Regions from separate parts of the Homo sapiens genome. Here regions 2 and 3 are each linked to region 1. Evidence: promoter capture Hi-C in 16 types of primary human blood cells and fetal thymus (Javierre and others, 2016). All regions are on one chromosome and are shown on one strand. The core of a region is centred on a gene start or on the middle of the fragment in contact, and the rest is flanking DNA. Distances in the headings are between cores, read along the strand shown. Region 1 holds the start of RPRM (reprimo, TP53 dependent G2 arrest mediator homolog). Region 2 has its middle 310 kb from the start of RPRM. Region 3 has its middle 330 kb from the start of RPRM.

What was found. Contacts are between HindIII fragments. The CHiCAGO score rates a contact against its expected background, and 5 or more counts as called.
Region 2: a fragment that was not itself captured here is called in contact with the fragment with the promoter of RPRM in region 1 in 1 of 17 cell types (naive CD8 T cells); the score reaches 5.7 in naive CD8 T cells.
Region 3: a contact is called between a fragment that was not itself captured here and the fragment with the promoter of RPRM in region 1, in 1 of 17 cell types (naive CD8 T cells). The highest score is 6.6, in naive CD8 T cells.

The regions. Positions count from the first base shown.
Region 1 is chr2:153,477,052-153,480,676 of GRCh38, forward strand. RPRM (reprimo, TP53 dependent G2 arrest mediator homolog) reads right to left here and starts at 1,711. Exons shown (of 1, transcript NM_019845.3): 1 at 287-1,711. The coding sequence starts at 1,514. The coding sequence ends at 1,185. It also overlaps a transcript of GALNT13 not described here. RefSeq lists enhancers at 1-381, 382-885, 886-1,389 and a silencer at 1,746-1,945. The HindIII fragment of the contact is 6,762 bases long and covers 1-3,625 here.
Region 2 is chr2:153,169,147-153,172,764 of GRCh38, forward strand. It overlaps a transcript of GALNT13 not described here. Among named protein-coding and RNA genes, the nearest start is that of RPRM, 310 kb to the right of the region's middle. The HindIII fragment of the contact is 3,000 bases long and covers 815-3,618 here.
Region 3 is chr2:153,149,580-153,153,060 of GRCh38, forward strand. It overlaps a transcript of GALNT13 not described here. Among named protein-coding and RNA genes, the nearest start is that of RPRM, 330 kb to the right of the region's middle. The HindIII fragment of the contact is 5,651 bases long and covers 1-3,481 here.

The DNA.
Region 1 (3,625 bases), core at 461-2,960:
GTCGTCTCGCCTACCTGAGAGCTGAGACTAAATGAAATATAAAATATTCACGATAAGAGGAAACAAAGGATGCTGCCTCCAGGACGGCTACTGTGCCTGAGGCTGGGCTCCTTCTCAGTCATCCCAGGGCCTCTCCGTCTGGCCCCACCCTCGCCCCTCCAGGGGATCCACAAGTTGAATCGCAGCTCTCCAGGGTTAATTGCCCTGGCCGGGAGCCAGACTCCTCACCGCCGCCCCGTTCCCCCCTGCTGGGGAGCGCAGAATGACCACCAGGAGGCCAGGAACAAAACGCTTAAATGTTGCATTTATTAAGGAAATGTTAAATAAGAAAAAAACAAAAAGTCAAAACGGTGTCACGGATGTCAAGAGCACTTTTGTGGCGTAAACCGTGCAGTCACGAGCTACGAGTTCTATTCTGGGTCTTTGTCCCAGGGCCAGCAGGAACGCTAGACGCCTCCCAAAAGACCCAGTGGGAAATGCACTAAAAGAAACAACTCACCCCGTTCAAATTCGCAGGCTCCCCCTCCCCCCACCCCTTCTCCCACAATGACAAAACTGTAACTCCTCAGGCAGGCAAACAGGCCACTGGGGCAGAAAAAGACTTATCAAACATTTGTATTCAAGCAAACAAACACAAAACCTCTTAAAACGGCACGTTACAATCAAAGGTATTTATCGCCCCTCCCCTCCAGGGCAGGGGGGGAGCAGGAGAAGAGTGGGAGCGCACCCGGACACGGATTTGTGAGACCCCATGAGTCTGCTGCGTGGCTTTTAACAGGTCACTCTTCCGGTCACAAGGCGATCAGTGCCGCTGGGTCTCTCCCCTGCCCGCCCTCTCCACCTGCCCCCAGAGCTTGGCCCACCTGCGGGTGGAGAAGGGCCTTCGCACCGTCGGTCTCCCCGCATTCCAAGTAAGTAGCAGCTTCCAAAGTTCTGCGCCCTAATCGCCCTCTTCTTGCCACTTTCTGCTGAGTTCAGAGTCTGGGCGCTCTCCTCCGACTGCCAGGCATGAGGACTTTCAGAGGGCGAGGGAGAAACCGGTCGCTTCTTTCCGAAAGGCCGAAGTCGAGAGAAATAATTGACTCCGACAGGTTTGCTTCGCCCAGTCTCTGATAGTGAGGGGCACAGCCGGGCTAGCAAAGTGGGCAGGCGTGGGAGCGGTTGCCGCGGGGGCAGAGGGCGGGTCAGTAGGGCCCCACGACCACCGCCTCCACCTCCTTAGACGGCCTCCGGTCCTTCACGAGGAAGTTGATCATGCCCTCGGACTTGATGAGCAGATTGCAGCCGAGGAAGAAGATGCCGAAGACCACGGTGAGTGAGAGCACGCACATGACCGCGATCTGCACCACGCGCATTATGTACAGGCTACGCTCGTCCGGGCCTCCCTCCGCGAAGCCGTCGTCGGTCACCACGGACGCCTGGGTGCAGCAGCGCACGGCTCGCTCCAGCGCCTCGCTGCTGTTGGCCAGGAACAGGCCCGCCACGTCCGTCTGGTTGCCTAGGGCCGGATTCATCGCAGGAACGGGCGGGCGCCGCGAGCGGCGCGGGTCCGAGGGGTGGGAAGGCGGCGGCGCTGGAGGAACAGGTGCCGGGCTGAGCGCTCACTCGCAGACTAGCGCGTGCGAGGGCTCCTCGCTCTGCTTTCGAAAGTCCCTGGGCCGTGGGAGTTTCCCAGGAGCCTCTCCGACGCGCGCAGCAGCTAGGCTCTTCTAAAGCCGTCCGCTCCAGCCCTGGTGGTGCTCGTTCCCGGCGCTCGCTCGAGGGGGGGCTGTTGGAACTTGGCGGGGCTGGACCAGCCCGGCCGTGGGAGGTGCGGGCCGCGGCGGCTGCAGCGGCGGGGTGGCTGCGCTGAGCAAACAGCGGCCCCTTCCGGCCGCACCGCCGCGCTGCGCGCTGCTCTTGGGAGGTGGAGGAAGCAAAGGGGCGAACCTGGTCTTGCTTTTTATTGCTTGCTTCTTTTGCAAACTCCAAAGGCCAGGCAGAGGTCACTGTACTCTTCTAGCTTGATGGATGATTAAAGAGTTTGTCGGGGGAGGGTGCGGTCAGCTGAAAGTTTCAGAGGAACTGGGACACACGAGCTCTGCGTGTCCTTTGCCTGCTGCCCCCCTGACCTCTGGGCGAATGGAAAGTGGCGATGAATCGCAGGTGCCAGATGGTGCCGGCTGAGGCCACCCGCCCACTGCCTGTGCTTGACTCCGACTCGCCTGCGTTGGATTTCTAGTGGAGTGGAGGTGATCTGAGAATGTTTCTTACAAAGCAATGAATTTGGAAAGACAGAAAGGCATGGAAGAAGGAAGGAAGAAAGGAAGGAAGGAAAGAAAAAAGGAAGGGAGGGAGAAAGAAGAGCTCTACACCCAGCTTCCTTTACAAAAGCGATTGGGAGACAGAGCAAGGCAGGTTTTACCGTGAGGTTTGAGGCCAAGGAAAGAGGGTTAGAGGAAGGAGGAGTTCTTCTGTGGCCCTTGGGTGGAGGTAGTTGCCGGGAGCAGGGTCACCTCTCTGGTAAAGGAGGTGAACAGAGTGACCACTTGCTTGTAATTTTAATTGCAGATAAGTTTTTGGATGTGCTTCCAGCATTTTGTCCGTTGGCAGTAAATCAGTTGTTGAAGGGAATTGCTCATCAACATCCATCACCTAGAACGCTGGCCAAATACTGGGAGCCCTCCCCATTTTCCATAAGCTGATGTATTTCACCCTTAGTCATTTAAACTAAACACAGATGTTTTTATAGGCCTGATTGACGCTTCAGCCATTGTGATTTTGCTCTAGGTTCCAACGAAATTCTATAAACCTGTCAGATTAAGTTTCTTAACTCTGAAAGAATATTGCATGTTCCCGCTCCCCCTTTTCTGTTTTCTTTCCCCTCCCTCCTTTTCCCCATTACTCCCTGCCTTCCTCCCTCTTTCTTTCAGCTGTAACAGCTGGAAACCAGTAACTTGAGCTTCCAATAGAATACATTTACTTTCTATTAAATGTTCTCACCACAAAGAACTGATAAAAATTTGAGATAATGGGTACGCTAATTACTCTGATTTGATCATTCCACATGTATATGTGTATCAAAATATCACTTTGTACCTCATAAATATGTACAGTTGTCAATTAAAAATAAAATAAAACTGAAAAATAGTAGCTGTCTTGCCATTTTCAACTCTACTCTTAATTTCATTCTGTTTGCTTGGTAAATCCTCTTATTTCTGTTTCTTAAAACATCATTTATTCCATCTTCAGAGTGTTCCTTAAATGTTTTTGCACTGCTTCATGACTATCATAAAATAGAATGAAATGCCTTCTGGTTGAGTTTTCAATTTTTTGATATTTATGGTATATCAGCTGCAATAAGTTTGATTTTTTAAAATAGCTATTATTATTTTGAGGGGGATGTTTAACAGCTGAAAATTCAGGCTTGGGCTTCTACCACAATTCACTGGCTTATTGTTCTAGTTTCCCATAATTTAATTAGAATTGAAAAATACCTCACTCTCGGCAATTTCTTCTTTGAAGAAATTTATTAATAATTGATAAGTAAGAATTTACTTAAATCTCATCATACAATCAGTCTATCTTAGTTAATGTGGGTAGTCCTCAAGAATAATAAAACGTAATGTATACATGGAAAAAATTA
Region 2 (3,618 bases), core at 1,065-3,564, 310 kb before region 1:
ATACCTATTTGTCACTGGCAGCCCTGCCTAGGTCAATAGCATAATAAAATTTCCTTCTAGGGCAAAAAGATTGACCTGAGAATGGGACAGAATTCGTAATTAATTGGTGGAGGCTGAGGAAAACTGGTAGAGTGTCAAAATCAGGATGTCTCTAAGTGAGATGAAAGTTTCAGAGGTTTTTGATTCAGGTGGACAGGATTTGGGCTAAGGGAGGCTTTAGGATGGCCATGATTCTTGTTGATGTTTGGTAACTAGAGTATAAGGACTGAGGCTTGATTGAAATAAGATGAAGAATCTGGAAGCATGACTCATTCCTGAAGACAAAGTTTCTACAGGAATTAGGAGTTAGATAGGACCACAGGTGTCCAGGGTAGAAGGCTAAGCTGTATTAAGCCTGGGGGTACTGCATGTCTGATGGGAGTAGATTAGGAAAGCTGTAGCTCACTGACCACTGAAAACCACAAACACTGAGAAACTCAGAAGGAACCACCAGCCTGACTGTCCCTGGTAAGAGCTTGGCTATGGCTGAACTCCCAAGAGGAAGACACTATACCTGGCAGCTTGGGTGAGGCTGAGACAGACACATAGAGTTGAAACCTGCAGTGCATTATTTTCTTTGTCTTTTCAAAGCAGAGCCATTTTATATTTAAAGGGGTCAAAAGTACAACCCCTACTGTTGTTAGCTCCCAGCTGTTTGCTGACATGTGTGGAAATGAAAATTTGGGAGGGGCTGGTCCTTGACCTCATTAGCATGTGTGGTTTTACTTTTTTGTACCTAGAAAAGAATTTATGTAACTGCCCTTATCCAAAATTAAGCTTGGGAATATGTTTGTTTAAAACCAACTAATCTTCATGTTTAAGTAAAGCCAATTTAATTAGTAAGTATGAGTAATTACAACTATTATCTAATTTATAAAATCCCATTAAATTTACTTTGAAGATTTAATGAAAATTACGGTTACAGTCTTAAATCTTAAGAATATGTTTTTGTAGACTATATGATCATAGCAAGGTCAAATTAGAATCTTTTTAGCAAACAATAGAGGTAACAAAATAAACCTAATACGTTCCTTAAATATTTTCATCTCATATTTTTCTACACATGAAGATGTTTATTTGGTTGATATAATAATATATCAGAGAAAGATTCTTTTAAGCTAATTGTTTTTTTTAATAACAAATTTTATCCAAAGAAAGCCACATCTTGTTAAGATTTAAGCAATTTTGTTTATTAGGGAAATGAGGAAGATTCAACCTCAGACTTGAGGGATTTTATCTTTCTTTGAACCTAAAGTAATTATAAGAAGAAATGTATATATGGATATGTAAACATGTGTTATAGCCAAAGTCTGGAACAGGTGATTTCTGACAATAGATAGCAAAATTTATAATTAACTTAAGCAGCTGGCTAAGCACCGAAGTGTCACACAGAAGAAAAAATAGTGTCTCATTGCAAGCCAAATATCACTGCTAGTAGCCAAATGATGCATTGTATGGCTAAACACAGGCTTTCTGACTTCCAAATACATGTTGGTCATTAGCCAACTGAAACAAATGAAGTTAACATTATCTAACAAATGTTACCTTATTTGAAATTCAGACTATAGCCCATAATGTTTTGATGACAGACTGATTTTAAGTCAGTGAGGAAGTTGCTTTTGAAATACATTTCTCATTTGCATCTCCATGTATATGATTTTCTGACTAGTTATTCTGATTCATCCATTTGTCTAATATAGCAGTTATTTAGCTTTTGATTAACAAAGTAAGGTTCTGAATAGATAAAATAATTATGAAAGCTAGACTTTATCAAGAGATGAAATTATTTTTTAAAATTCCATCAGCATTTTAGTGTACACTTTTGTTTGTCTACTCAGTAACAGTAACTTTTCCTTCTTTTTTCTAACAAAACTCTGATTCAATTCGGTTACCCCACTGGTAGTGCACCTTAAGGGAGATATACTCCTGTATCAGCCTGGGGCTGAATCATGAGTGGTCTAAGCCAATTATGGTCGTCTCGTTGCCTTTGCCAAAAACCAGTTTATGTATAGGCACGTGATGCACATCTGAGAAGTGAGAAGCTGTAAATGCTTCTGATCAAGGCTTTCCTTGCTATAAAAAGTTACTGGAATATTGTTTTGGCAACTAATTGAGTGCATGAATTGAGTAAATGGTTACATCATTAGATAGTGAGCATTAGTTTTAAAAAGCATGTGACATAAAATTATTACAGAGGAAGCACTATATTAAACTAATTAACATTAAATAATTATTATTTAGAAATGCAAAAACAACTCCACCAATATCAAGGTACTCACTAGAATGGCTAACAAAAAAAAAGTGACAAGTGTTGACAAGAATGTGGGACAACAGTAACTCTTATATGTTGGTGAATTTCTAATGAAATATATTATACTTCATTAGAGAAGTTTACCAACAATCCTTCCCAAACCTGAAGAGGAAAAAGCTGTTATTTTCTTTTGCTAGATATTATTGTGTCTGCCTGTGACACCTAGAATCTGGCTGTAACCTGGCTAAGGATGGCAAGGCAGAAAGAAGTAAGAAAACTGTGTTTTATGACACAGCTGAGCACTAAATATAAAAACCTAAAATGGCCTTATCTTGGGAATAACCATATCAGATAATGCTGTTTCTGTACTATTTAAGCCAAATTGAGTTATTTTCTGTTAATTATAGCTGAAACTATTTCAGCTGATAATTGTCTATTAACATTAAAAGCCAGGACTGACCATGTAGATTACTTTCTTCCATAACACAGAAAAGATAGCCCTTCCATCATTAATAGGAGGAGACATGGTAATCATTTGCACAGGTAGAAGAAGGTTATAACATGATGGGGTTCATGTTGAAAGGAGTGGGGAGCATACCATTCTAGTGCAGGACATTTGGGAAGAAAGAGGCAGAGATGAGAAGTGAACCACTTCGGATTGACTGAAGTCCTAGAGGAGAGACAAAGACATATGGATGGGAATATAAAGCAGCACATCTCTTGTACCAATCTATATTTGATATCCTAGCCTAGTATTTTATTGTAAAGAGTCCTATATCTACCTGTGGGAGACTGTATTAGTGTTAGAGGGATGGTGCATGCATAGAGGGAGCCTTGGTGTAGCTCCTGTAAGCCACCTTCGTTTTTCATACAGTGGAGATAGAAATGCCAAATCCCAGGCTTCTCTTGAAGTAGAGAGATAGAATGTTAGCTGGGAGTTAGGGTGGGGAGCTTGCCAGAAAACATAGTGATTGCAGGGATGAAGAGACTCTGTATTAAAGGACTTTTGGACAGACTACTTAGGATTCACTGCCAACCCTAAGGGGATTTAAAGCACCACTGAGAGCTGAGGTGGGTCCAGGCCAGTAGACAATACCACTAGGCCCTGACCAAGGTGGAGGAGAACAGGTCATGAGCTAGGGCTCTTGGGCAGGTACCAACAATGCCCTGCCATCCTTAGCCAGTTGATAGCCAGCAGGGTCACTAGTACCTGGGCAAACAAAGAAATGTTTTTCATTAAGGGCTAGAAGAGTGGCACAAAATCACGTGGTACAAATAGGAGACTTTTTCTTCCCATGCCAACAAAGGATCCAGCAAATGACCTTACA
Region 3 (3,481 bases), core at 975-3,474, 330 kb before region 1:
TGGGTCACAATTTAGGAATGTCACCATGGAGATCCTTTCAACACTCATTTTTTTGCAGTGTGGGTTACAAATAAACCTTTACTCTTTTAAGTCACTCAGATTTTAGGGTGTATTTATTACCACAGCATAGCCTACTGTGTCCTGACAAACACATTTTATGCCCTGCACTTTACCTTATATCCTTTAAATTTTAGCTGTTAATACGGTATATCTCATGTTTTGTTTTCATACACAAAGAGTTGGTAGATAATAAAATAATTAAATTGTACCTGAAGAAAACATTCTCTCTAGCAGTGTCATCTAAAATAAGAGGAACATTTATTTTAAAATTAAGAATGGCAGGGGTTTTTTTTGCCTGAAAATAATGTCTTTGAGGCTATAGACAACTTTCAGTGGTTCAGGGGCCTGCCTGCTCATCTAATTTATGAAGGATTCATGGAGTAATATCTCCTCTGTCTCTGTGTCATCCATGATCTCTTGTCGGCTTCACTCTAATCAGCATGTCTATGGAAGAAAAACCAAACTGTATTGAATTAGTTCTCTTTTTCTTCAAATAACTTGAAAGGAAAGTCCTGATGTACTATATTATTTGACTTATATGATTCAACACCTTTGATGTCAGGGATAGGCTTAATGGAAGAAGAAATTTATGATACATTAGTTCCATTAAAATGCACCTATAAATGTCCTCTTTTGAGAAGTGTCTGTTCATATCCTTCACCCACTTTTTGATGGGGTTGTTTGTTTTTTTTCTTGTAAATTTGTTGGAGTTCATTGTAGATTCTGGGTATTAGCCCTTTGTCAGTTGAGTAGATTGCAACAATTTTCTCCCATTCTGTAGGTTGCCTGTTCACTCTGATGGTAGTTTCTTTTGCTGTGCAGAAGCTCTTTAGTTTAATTAGATCCCATTTGTCAATTTTGGCTTTTGTTGCCATTGCTTTGGTGTTTTAGACATGAAGTCCTTGCCCATGCCTGTGTCCTGAATGGCATTGCCTAGGTTTTCTTCTAGGGTTTTTATGGTTTTAGGTCTAATGTTTAAGTCTTTAATCCATCCTGAATTAATTTTTGTATAATGTGTAAGGAAGGGATCCAGTTTCAGCTTTCTACATATGGCTAGCCAGTTTTCCCAGCACCATTTATTAAATAGGGAATTGCTTCCCCATTTCTTGTTTTTGTCAGGTTTGTCAAAGATCAGATGGTTGTAGATATGCGGCATTATTTCTGAGGGCTCTGTTCTGTTCCATTGGTTTATATCTCTGTTTTGGTATCAGTACCATGCTATTTTAGTTACTGTAGCCTTGTAGTGTAGTTTGAAGTCAGGTAGCATGATGCCTCCAGCTTTGTTCTTTTGGCTTAGGATTGACTTGGCAATGCGGGCTCTTTTTTGGTTCCATATGAACTTTAGTTTTTTCCAATTCTGTGAAGAAAGTCATTGGTAGCTTGATGGGGATGGCATTGAATCTCTAAATTACCTTGGGCAGTATGGCCATTTTCATGATATTGATTCTTCCTACCCAAGAGCATGGAATGTTCTTCCATTTGTTTGTATCCCCTTTTATTTCCTTGAGCAGTGGTTTGTAGTTCTCCTTGAGGAGGTCCTTCATGTCCCTTGTAAGTTGGATTTTTTGCAGCCAAAAGACACATGAAAAAATGCTAATCATCACTGGCCATCAGAGAAATGCAAATCAAAACCACAATGAGATACCATCTTACACCAGTTAGAATGGCAATCATTGAAAATCAGGAAACAACAGGTGCTGGAGAGGATGTGGAGAAATAGGAACACTTTTACACTGTTGGTGGGACTGTAAACTAGTTCAGCCATTGTGGAAGTCAGTGTGGCGATTCCTCAGGGATCTAGAACTAGACATACCATTTGACCCAGCAATCCCATTACTGGGTATATACCCAAAGGATTATAAATCATGCTGCTATAAAGACACATGCACATGTATGTTTATTAGAGCACTATTCACAATAGCAAAGACTTGGAATCAACCCAAATGTCCAACAATGATAGACTGGATTAAGAAAATGTGGCACATATACACCATGAAATACTATGCAGCCATAAGAAATGATGAGTTCATGTCCTCTGTAGGGATGTGGATGAAGCTGGAAACCATCATTCTCAGCAAACTATCGCAAGGACAAAAAACCAAACACCACATGTTCTCACTCATAGGTGGGAATTGAAAAATGAGAACACATAGACACAGGAAGGGGAACATCACACACTGGGGCCTGTTGTGGGGTGGGGGGAGGTGGGAGGGATAACATTTGGAGATACACCTAATGTTAAATGACGAGTTACTGGGTGCAGCACACCAACATGGCACATGTATACATATGTAACTAACCTGCACATTGTGCACATGTACCCTAAAACTTAAAGTATAATAATAATAAAAAATTTACCTATAAAATGTTGGCCAACTCTGGTAGTCTGAATGGAGCGGGTCTAGCTTATTTCTATTCAGGAGATCAAATCTGCTTTCTGGGGAGAGCTAGTACTAAACCCTGATATTTGACACCTTGCCCTTTGCTACATATTCTGAAGTCTGTAACATGGAGCTCTCCATTATTTTCCTTATTAGAAATGACTTTTGATATCCCTGTAATTGGACCATTATCCTCTTGATTAAAAATGCTGATTTAGCAAATCTCATGAAGGAAAACAACTTTGTCCCAGGGAAATATCATAAATGGGAGATGGCCGTGGTAGTGGTAGTGCACTTGGATATGGCCAGGTAAAATATTGAACTCAACTGATAATATCAGGGTTCTTTTGGGAAATCTTAATTAAGGAAGATCTTTATTCCACACACTTTCTTTTTTTTTCATTTCTTTCTTTTTAAGTTCAGGGTACATGTGTAGATTTGTGACATAGGTAAACTTGTATCATGGGTGTTTGTTGTACAGATTATTTCATTGCTGAGGTGATAAACCTAGTACCCATTAGTATCCTGATCCTCTCTCTTTTCCCATCCTCCACCCTCCAAAAGGTCCTAGTGTGTGCCTCTATGTGTCCATGTGTTCTCATCATTTAGCTCTCCCTGATAAGTGAGGACATGTAGTATTAGGTTTTCTGTTCCTTTGTTAGTTTGCTAAGGATAATGGCCTCCAGCTCCGTCCATGTTCCTGCAAAGGATATGATCTCCTTCCTTTTTATGGCTGCATAGTATTCCTTGGTGTATATGTACCACATTTTCTTTATCCAGTCTATCACTGATGGACATTTAGGTTGATACCCTGTCTTTGCTATTGTGAATAGAGCTGCAATGAACATACACGTGCATGTGTCTTTATAATAAAAAGATTTATATTCCTTTAGGTATATACCCAGTAATGGGATTGCTGAGTCAAATGGCATTTCTATCTTCAGGTTTTTGAGGAATCACCACACTGCCTTCCACAATGGTTGAACTAATTTACACTCCTACCAACGGTGTATAAGAGTTCATTTTTCTCTATAACCTTG